Linked DNA regions of Homo sapiens: regions 1 and 3 are each linked to region 2. Evidence: promoter capture Hi-C in human tissues and cell types (Jung and others, 2019). All regions are on one chromosome and are shown on one strand. The core of a region is centred on a gene start or on the middle of the fragment in contact, and the rest is flanking DNA. Distances in the headings are between cores, read along the strand shown. Region 1 has its middle 100 kb from the start of HCRTR2. Region 2 holds the start of HCRTR2 (hypocretin receptor 2). Region 3 has its middle 86 kb from the start of HCRTR2.

The links. Contacts are between HindIII fragments. The study calls those that stand out against the background at their distance.
Region 1: a contact is called between a fragment that was not itself captured here and the fragment with the promoter of HCRTR2 in region 2, in 2 of the 25 tissues and cell types used here (dorsolateral prefrontal cortex and small bowel).
Region 3: a contact is called between a fragment that was not itself captured here and the fragment with the promoter of HCRTR2 in region 2, in 2 of the 25 tissues and cell types used here (heart right ventricle and small bowel).

What each region holds. Positions count from the first base shown.
Region 1 is chr6:55,070,933-55,074,198 of GRCh38, reverse strand. No RefSeq gene overlaps it. Among named protein-coding and RNA genes, the nearest start is that of HCRTR2, 100 kb to the left of the region's middle. The HindIII fragment of the contact is 4,425 bases long and covers 1-3,266 here.
Region 2 is chr6:55,172,813-55,175,787 of GRCh38, reverse strand. HCRTR2 (hypocretin receptor 2) reads right to left here and starts at 1,273. Exons shown (of 7, transcript NM_001384272.1): 1 at 978-1,273. The coding sequence starts at 1,200. The HindIII fragment of the contact is 12,053 bases long and covers 1-2,975 here.
Region 3 is chr6:55,086,788-55,090,101 of GRCh38, reverse strand. No RefSeq gene overlaps it. Among named protein-coding and RNA genes, the nearest start is that of HCRTR2, 86 kb to the left of the region's middle. The HindIII fragment of the contact is 3,959 bases long and covers 1-3,314 here.

The sequences.
Region 1 (3,266 bases), core at 552-3,051, 100 kb after region 2:
TGTTGTTTCAAACATTTGTTTCTTTCTCTCTTTTTTCTTATTCTGTTATGCACATTACCTGTATTTTACACCTTTTGTAGTTTCCCATGGCTATTGCATATTCTGGGCATTTTTAAGTCTTTTTTTCTCTTTCCTTTTCAGCTTTGGAGGTTTCCATTGAGATATCCTCATTCTCAGAGATTCTTCCTCTATGTCCACTTTACCAATTAATCCATCAAAGGCATTCTTCATTTGTGTTATAGTGTTTTTGATCTCTAACGTTTAAGGTTTTTTTAGAATTTCCATCTCTCTGCTTACATTGCCTATTTGTTCTTGTGTTCTGTCTCCTATATCTATAAGAGCCTTTAGCATATTAATTATAGTTGTTTGAAAATCCCAATCTGATCATTCCAGTATCTCTGCCGTATCTGTCTCATTCTGAGGAGACTGCTCTGTCTCCTCCAACTGTATTTTTTGCCTTTTAGTATGCCTGGTAATTTTTTCTATGTAGCCAGACATGATGTGTTGGGTAAAAGATACTGCTGTAAACAGAACTTTAGTAATGTGCTGGTAGAGTGTAGGGAGGGAAAGCATTCTACAGTCCTATGATTAGGTTTCAGTCTTTTAGTAAGCGTGTGTCTCAGGACTAAACTTCACAAGTGCTTCTCAATCTTCTCCCCTTACCCCTTAATGACTAGAGTGGGCTTGAGTTTAGTATTTCTCTTCTTACAAGTGGAAGGCTAGAGCCAGCTGGAATTAAATATTTCCCTTTTCCCAGATAAGTTAGCTCTAGTTAAATACTTTCTTCTGAGGGCAAACCTTGCTCAGGAAATAATTATCTGACATATTTCAAGATGGTTCCTTTACTCTTCCAACCGCAGGAATCATGAGGGGATTTTTCTCAGGTACTGACTATGAGAACTCAGTAGTTTTCCAGGAGATAAAACTCACAAAATTGTATGGGCTCCCCTATGACTAGGTCTACCGGAAGCTTTTGTCTATCATACTTGTCCACACTAAGTTTCCAGCAATTAGTCAATTACAGTTCCGTTTTTCCTACCCCAGCACTTGTTCCCATGTTTCAGTTCATGAATCGGTACTCCAGTAAGCCATGACTCTCTGTCTTTGCCTATTTGTCTTTCCAATCCTGGGGGCACTGGTTTGCCCTGAATCCTCACTTCTCTTGCAGATCCAAGAAGAGTTGATTTTTCAGTTCGTTCATCTCCACATTTATTAGGGTGGAGTGGTGACATCCAAGCTCCTTACATGTTAGACCAGAAACTGGGAGAATATAATTTCTTTCTTTCTTTCTTTCTTTCTTTCTTTACAAATCTTTAAAGAGAAAATAAAAGCATTAGCATAGTGAATTTACTAAACTATTTGTAATCAAAAAAGGGTGATATATTTGATTTTTTTTTTTTTTTTGAGACGGAATCTTACTCTGTCTCCAGGCTGGAGTGCAGTGGTGCAATCTCAGCTCACTGCAAGCTCCACCTCCAGGGTTCAAGCGATTCTCCTGCCTCAGCCTCCCGAGTATCTGGGACCAGAGGCGCGCACCACCACTCCCAGCTAATTTTTTTGTATTTTAGTAGAGACAGGGTTTCACCATGTTGGCCCAGATGGTCTCGATCTCCTGACCTCATGACCCGCCGGCCTTGGCCTTCTAAAGTGCTGGGATTACAGGTGTGAGCCTCCGCGCCGGCCCTTTGAAATATTATTTTAAAACCGCAATACATTCTTAAACTCAAAATTAACATAAGGAGATGGTGAGAAAAGGGTACAGGTGTTGAGGATTAAGGATGGAGTAGAGGGAAACTGTAGATGATAGAGCCCAGTTCCTGATAAATGCGAAATGTATCAAAGTCAAGCACTATGATGAAATCTATTTTGTTAGAATCATTGTGACATCGGATATCAACTCCTCTGAATAACCACACTCAAATTTATCTCTTTTGCTCTCCTCTTCTTCCTAAGGCCCACCTCTAACATACAAAGGCACTTCTACTCTAAGCTTCCCCTCCTCTTGCCAAAATACTTGATAACCACTCTCATAATTCCCTTTTTGCTTTCAGGCTGGTAACAATGGTCTACAATCATGCTAATATTATTATCTCAATGTTTGGAAACAAGAAAGCACGAAGTGTTGAAGGTAACAATTTGAGAGCAGAATGAATGAAGGTGCCTAGGAAGATATGTATGTGTGCATCACGGCAAGTGCCTTGTATTTGCTGGCACATGCTACAAAAATAAGCTTTGCTATGCCGTGATATGTTGTAGGTCACATTTCTTTTCAGTGTTGACTTCAATTATTTTTATTAAAATGCTGATTAAAAAATTACATATAACCTGCTTATCCTTATATGTCCTACATAATATAAAACCAAATAATTGAGGAATTAACATAAAATGAAAATAACTATTGAACTAAGTTCTCTGTTAATGAAGTCACTACATGATATAACTACCATGTAATATAAAAATTAAAAATACAATGTCCAAATCTTAAGTTTTTTTCTGATTATCTTTTAAATATGGGTTATTATTATAATTTTGACAAATTAGAAAGTTAATCCTTTTAAATTTTGTGTTGTGAAAGCTAGTAATAGTTCAAGAACTAATAAAAGGATATTTTTCTAAAGAAAACACAATCAAATAAAATAATTTCTGCCACTGAATGTGCTAAAAGAAATTAAGATCACTATAAAACAGTAGCTGATAGATTTTTTTCCTGAAGTAGAGATTTTTCCTTATTGTATATTTATTTGTATCAAACGTTACTGTTTTTAAAGTAAGATTGAATTAATTTAAAAATATGATTGAATCTTTGTTGAAATTTGCCTCAGAAATTCAAAGAAGTAGAATTAAAAGTCACAATTTTCTTTTTAGTTTGAGATATTAGAATACGACTTTAAATTGAATCTAGAGGTCTAGTTTAAGTACTTTTGGAGACCTCATCATGTCCACTGAATTATAATAAATACTGCCCTCATGGCTAAAACTCTGTCCCAAGTCATGAAGAAAAATAGGAAAAAAGTATCTTTCACCAATTATTACTCACAGGGAATTGGTCTTTACCCAAATCATTTTACTTCCTTAGAATTTTTCTTTTCTCACCCTATCTCTTGCCAAAATGTTATACTTCAAGACAAAGATTGTGCCCCAACCCCCGCAAATAACTTAATATTCTTTGTATTTCCTAATAAAAATAATAAAACTTGAAAAACAAAGAATGTGCCAAATTAAACAATATAAGACAATTTAGGTGTGCAAATCTCACGTGGTTAGGA
Region 2 (2,975 bases), core at 24-2,523:
TTCTGGAGGTATATTCCCCAACTGCCCTAATACATTCCATCATCGCACTCACCATGTTGCCATCTCACCCCCTCCCCAACCCTCAGAAATTGTTTAGGGGGAGGGGGATGAGGGGTCGAGGAAACCCGTGTTTGCATACAGACCTAGACCGGGACAAATAGCCTAGCATTAAGCTTAGTCTCATCTTTGGAGAAAACAAAACAAAACAAAACAACAACAAACAGTTGACATGAATAATTCCTGAGCCTGGCAACAAGCAGACTGAAAAAAAAAAATATTTGGCTGAATGGATGTAAGAATGAATGGATGGATGGATGATTGAGATCTCTGTGGTACTTTTCTCCGATGCCCCTCCTTCTTGCTCCAGGCATGGATCCTGTTTAATTCAGCTTCTATGAGTGAGTGCACTTCCCTGCTTTGCCTCCGTCTCCACTCCCTGCTGGTTCATTACCACCTCTTGACTGGAGACTAAACCTCCTCGCCAAAGGGCAATGCCACCTAGCTCACAAATGCTTTGTGACTTCCACAGCCACAGAGAGCTTGCTCCTTAGGGATGTAGCTTTGTATTCTGCAAGCTCTGTCTCGTCCCAACCCCCCTGAAACACCCAGCCACGTTACACAAAGGGATGACTGACTCCCCCACCTACCCACCCACACACACACACACTCAACAAAATCCACCTGGAGATCCCTGCCGCGGCCCCTCTCCCTGCGCTTGTAATCTAGGTGCTCGAAAAAGAAACGCGGTTTCCCCGTTATTCCTGCAAAACAGGGAATAACCTTTCCAGGGCTCGGTCCCGGTTCGGAAAATCAGAAAACTTTCTATTATTATTATTATTTTATTAGAAAACCCCATCCGAGAGCAGCGACCTCTTTGTTTGCTTCCCGGGGGAGGGAGGGGTCTCTTTAGAGCCTTCTCAGCCCGGGGCGGAGAGGGGGTGATAGCCCCTAGGAGGGCTGCCCGGGAGGAGACTCACCCAGGACGTTCCCAATGAGAGCCACGACGAACACGATGATGTACCCGGCGATCAGGACCCACTCATATTCTTTCGGGTGCAGGTATTCCCTCCACAGGTACCGCAGGAATTCCTCGTCGTCATAGTCGGTGGGGTTTAAAAAGGGCTCTTGAGTTTCATTCAGCTCCGAAGCAGATGACCAGTTGCGACAAGGGGGGGAGTCCTCCAATTTGGTGCCGGACATCACGGGCTCAAGTCCGGTTCCGCTCAATGCTGCAAGCTCCTCTCCGCCTGCCCCATGAGCACTGGTGATTTGCGGTGGGAAAGGCTGCGCGGAGAGGCTAGAAGGGGCTCCCGAGCAGAAAATGACGTGAAAAGTTACTGAGCCAATGCCTCCGGAGTCTTCTGCCGGGCAACTTCTGCGGTGGCTTTGCTGTCTTTACAGGCGATGTTGCACCGGGAAGATAGGCAGCTGAGGAACTAGGGACCCGGCACTGGAGGCTGCAGCAATGACACCAGGAGGAGAAAGCTACGTCCGGCTCAGCTGAAGCTCAATTACTCCTCATTCCAGCACTCAGTCCGCAGCCCACAGCCTCCTCCCTCGCTGAGGGAGAGCTGAAGCTGAAGAAAAAAAAAAAAGTAATGAAAACTAATTTAATCTGTTTTTTTGGGGGGTGGGGGGTGAGAGTTAAATCTCTCTCTTTTTCTACTTATTTTCTCTATTTTTACGTGCACTTATTATAAACCATGCACAGACATGCATCAGTCTGTGGATATGACAAAAATGTCAACATACAATTAATACAGAGCATGTTGATACATTTGTCTTTGTAAAGCAAATATAAAAGCAATAAGGAGGTGCCTCTGTGTTTCTCAAGCAGGACAATGGAAAAGTCATTCCAGGCAAACACTTTAACATTTAATATAAACTTATTTTAACATTTGACATTTGCCAACTTAGTACTTGCCGAGTCTTTAAGACATCTCCGTCTTCACTTTCTCCTTAAAATTTGAGAATGAGACTGTTTTTAAACTGAAGGGTCTATTTAGCTGGAATTTGTATTTGCGATAGTTAAGTGTCATGTGAAATAGAGCTACAAATTCTTGAAGGACGCCAAGTGTCATAAATATGATCATAGTTAATGTTGTCAAGCATGACAGACCACCAATATACTCAATGATATTAAACATTCACTGTAGGATGTAGCAATCTAAGCAGAAGTGCTCTCTCTGGTAAATACCACATCCCATTGGGTCTTTCTTCCCATTGATTCAGGGCTGATGTCACCTGCCATTCTCTCATGCACTGGTTTTGTCTCTAATAATAAGTATTCTAGCATTTGTCAGAATGTGAATTCATGATCCTTTTATTCTTAATAAACATGGTAAAAATATTGCATTTAAGTAATTACAATCTTGCACTTGGGAAGAGCCTGGAAATCTTGTCTGAACTTCAGCTTCAGAGTAGAAGCCTCCTGATAACATTGCTGACATGTCCCCATCTAGCTTGAATGTGACCACCACAATTCACTACTTCCATCCTTATGGGAGTGCTCTAAGGGTGAGAAAACTGTTTCTTACATTAAACCAAGGTCTCAAGCCACGATTTGTCTTTTTGAGACTTTTACCTCTAATTCCTAGTTTGCATCTTGGTGCTACACAGAATAAATCTTCCACATGACAATGCTTCACAGATTCAAAATAAACATCACAGCCCCAGCGCTCCTTTATATGCCCTCATGTTTCTTTTTTAGTATTTTTCTTTTCAATGTTGTTCAAATGACAGTAGCTCCCACCTACATCTGTTTGGTCTTCCTTTAGACAATTGTCAATATCTTGCAAAATATGTAACTGGGAGGAAGTAACAATAATATGGTTTGAGTCTTGCCAGTGCAAAAAGTACATTATTCTTTGGATGCAACCAGTTTTTATATGTAATTATTTTTTCAACACACACAAGACATTGGTGGTTTACACTGAGATTTAGTTAACTACCCCACCCCCTCCTCCAATCATAAT
Region 3 (3,314 bases), core at 164-2,663, 86 kb after region 2:
GTCTGGTTTCTCCCCATCTTTGTGGCTTTATCTACCTTTGGTCTTTCATGATGGTGACGTGCCAATGGGGTTTTGGTGTGAAAGTCCTTTCCGTTTGTTAGTTTTCCTTCTAACAGTTAGGACCCTCAGCTGCAGGTCTGTTGGAGTTTGCTGGGGGTCCACTCCAGACCCTGTTTGCCTGGGTATCACCAGCAGAGGCTGCAGAACAGCAGATGTTGCTGCCTAATCCTTCCTCTGATGATTGTGGGACAAAATCATCCTGGATTCAGGGTGGGTCCTAAGCCCAGTGACTGGTGCCCTTATAAGAGAAAGGAGAGGTAAGTTTGTGATACAGAGAAACAGGGGAGAAGGCCATGTGAAGATGCGTGCAGATATTGGAGTTATGTAGCTTCAAGCCAAGGAATACCAAGAATTGCTAATAGACATTGAAAGAGGATGGAGGAGGAAGAAGGGAAGGAATGAAAAGAAGAGGAAGAGGAGGTGAGGGCAGCAGAGGAAGAAAGAGATGGCATGTGGAACTTCAATGATAGTAATATTCCCATCTTTCATAATGGGGAGAGCAGAAGATAATGCTTACGTAAACAAATCGAGAAAATGTGTTATGTTTTAAGTTTATTAGAGAAGTTAACAGAATACATTAATAAAAGAGACACAAAACAAAATTAGGTAAAACACCTTTGGAGTGTAACAAAAGGAGTGAAACATAAAAAGTAAGAAATAAAATATTTTTATTAATTAATAAAAGCTATATTATGCTCTATTTTTAAAAAGGAATGTAGGTATAGTAAAGCAAAAATAAATAAATAAAGCCATCTATAAGTGAGGAAATTTTGACTCCTTTATAGCAACATGCTATAGTTTGGATGTCTGTCCTCCCAAATTTCATATTGAAATTTGGTCCTCAATGTTGAAGGTGGGGCTTAATGAGAGGTGTTTGGGTCTTAGGGACACACCCTTCATGAATGGCTTGGTGACTCATCCTCATGGTAATGAATGAGTTCTCACTCTATTAGTTCCTGTAAAAGCTGGTTGTTAAAAAGAGACTGGCACCTCCTCCCACTCCTAATCTTGCTTCCCTCTCTTGCCATGTGATCTTTGTATACCCTAGCTCCTGTTCACCTGCTGCTATGAGTGGAAGCAGCCTGAGGTTTTCACCAGATGTCCAATCTTCCAGATAGCAGAACTGAGAGCCAAATAAACATTTTTCTTTATAAATTATCCCATCTCAAGTATTTTTATAGGAATGCAAAGTGGACTAACACATAGTACCTGCAATGTCCTCAGAGAAATAAAGTGAATTCTAATAACTATAAAATCAGACAAGTTGTCATCACAGGATGTAAAATTCTAGTTTTGTGTCTTTGAGTAATTTACTTAACCTTGCTTGATCTCAGTGCTCTCATCTGAACATTTGAAATAACATTATCCATTTCATATGAAATTAAACTATATATTTGTAATATCCTCAAAATAATGGCTTGCACATCTTAAGCACTGATGAAATATTAATCAGTTTGAAGCCTAAGTCAGACTGTTTCAAATGTATATAAACTAAGGGAGTCCGAAACCTAAAACCTGCCCTCATTAAAAGAGCTATTTCTTTCTTTTTTTTTTTTTTTAAGACAGAGTCTTGCTCTGTCACCCAGGCTGGAGTGCTATGGTGTGATCTCAGCTCACTGCAACCTCCACCTACCGGGTTCCAGCAATTCTCCTGCCTCAGCCTCCCAAGTAGCTGGGTTACCACACTGGCAAACGTTTGTATTTTTAGTAGAGACAGGGTTTCACCATGTTGGCTAGGCTGATCTCGAACTCCTGGCCTCAAGTGATCCGCCCACCTTGGCCTCCCAAAGTGCTAGGATTACAGGTGTGAGTCACCGTGCCCAGCCTGAAAGAGCTATTTCTTGATGAACTCTAACCACACAAAATATAAATAGAAGGATGGCCTACTTGTGGTAAAGGGACTGGCTGTAAGTAAACAATTCTGCAAAATGTGGTTACAAGAAATAATATAAATGTTATAAACTTTGATAATGCAGAAATAATCAGACTCTTGATGTCAGAGTCAGAGAGGTACATTCTGTAAATACGGATGATTTTTCAATTAGAGCAGAGACCCAAAGATATCTTCACAGCTGCTAAATCAAATATTTATGGTAAATATACTTAAGATTTTAAAGTTAATCACCAAAAGTGCTAAAACAGCCATAAACCTTACAAATTACCAGAAGGAAAACACTCAATCATTTATTTTAAAGACAAGAAAATACAGGCTGCAGAGTTAAATGTTAAAAAAAAAAAGAGCAACAGGAACTTTAAAAGCAGAAATCCTAGTATAAAATTAATAAAAGTGTTAAATCAAAGATACCTGTAAAACCACTAGTGATAAATGGTTAAAATTTTAATCCTTAATTGATTAAAAATGCAAAAGTGAAGATGCTATATATGAGAAAAGCTTTTAAATTAAAGTGAATGAAAATATATAAAGCATAAAATATTGGCAAAAACATTAAGGAATGAATTTTTTTAAAGTAGGGTCATAATATAATTATCAGATAAAAATAAACTTGTGGCAGAGAGCAATAAAGCAAAAAAAACTTTAGTGATAAAATTTACACACCACAATAAACAACTAACTGACATGAATATTTATGCATAGAATAAACACAGCATCAAAATTCATGAAGTACATGAAGCAAAGTAAATAAAACCTACAAATGGATATATAAAAATTAATATGATTAACAAACTTGTTCTAACAGATGCTTACACTCAAGCTCTCTAAGTAAAAAATTGACCCAATATTAAAAGCCTCTAACTATTCTCCAAAGTTGAAATCGTTCAAATCACAGAGTTTCATCACAACATAATAAAATTAGAATTTAATAACTAAAGTAGAAGGAAAACAAGTATATGCTATGATGTCATATTCTCTGGATTGAAATCCATGTGATTAGGGATCATAGTGATGGATAATAAAGTGTTGGAACCACAGATTTCTCATATTGAAAATGAGAATCATTATAGCATATACAACATATGGTGGTTTAGAGGTTTATTAGTCAGGTTTCTAAAATCTCTATTAGTCTGTTTAGGACTGTCAAAACAAAATATCACAAGCTTAGTGGCTTAAAAAAAAAGAAATTTATTTTCTTATAGGTTTGAAGTCTGAAAGTTCAGTATCAAGATACCAGCATGAATGGTTTCTGGTGACATCTCACTTTCTGGCTTGCAGACAGACACATTCATTCTGTATCCTCATACTGTCTTTCCTCTGCATGCAAGAATCCCTGGTACCTCTTCCTCTTCTTATATGG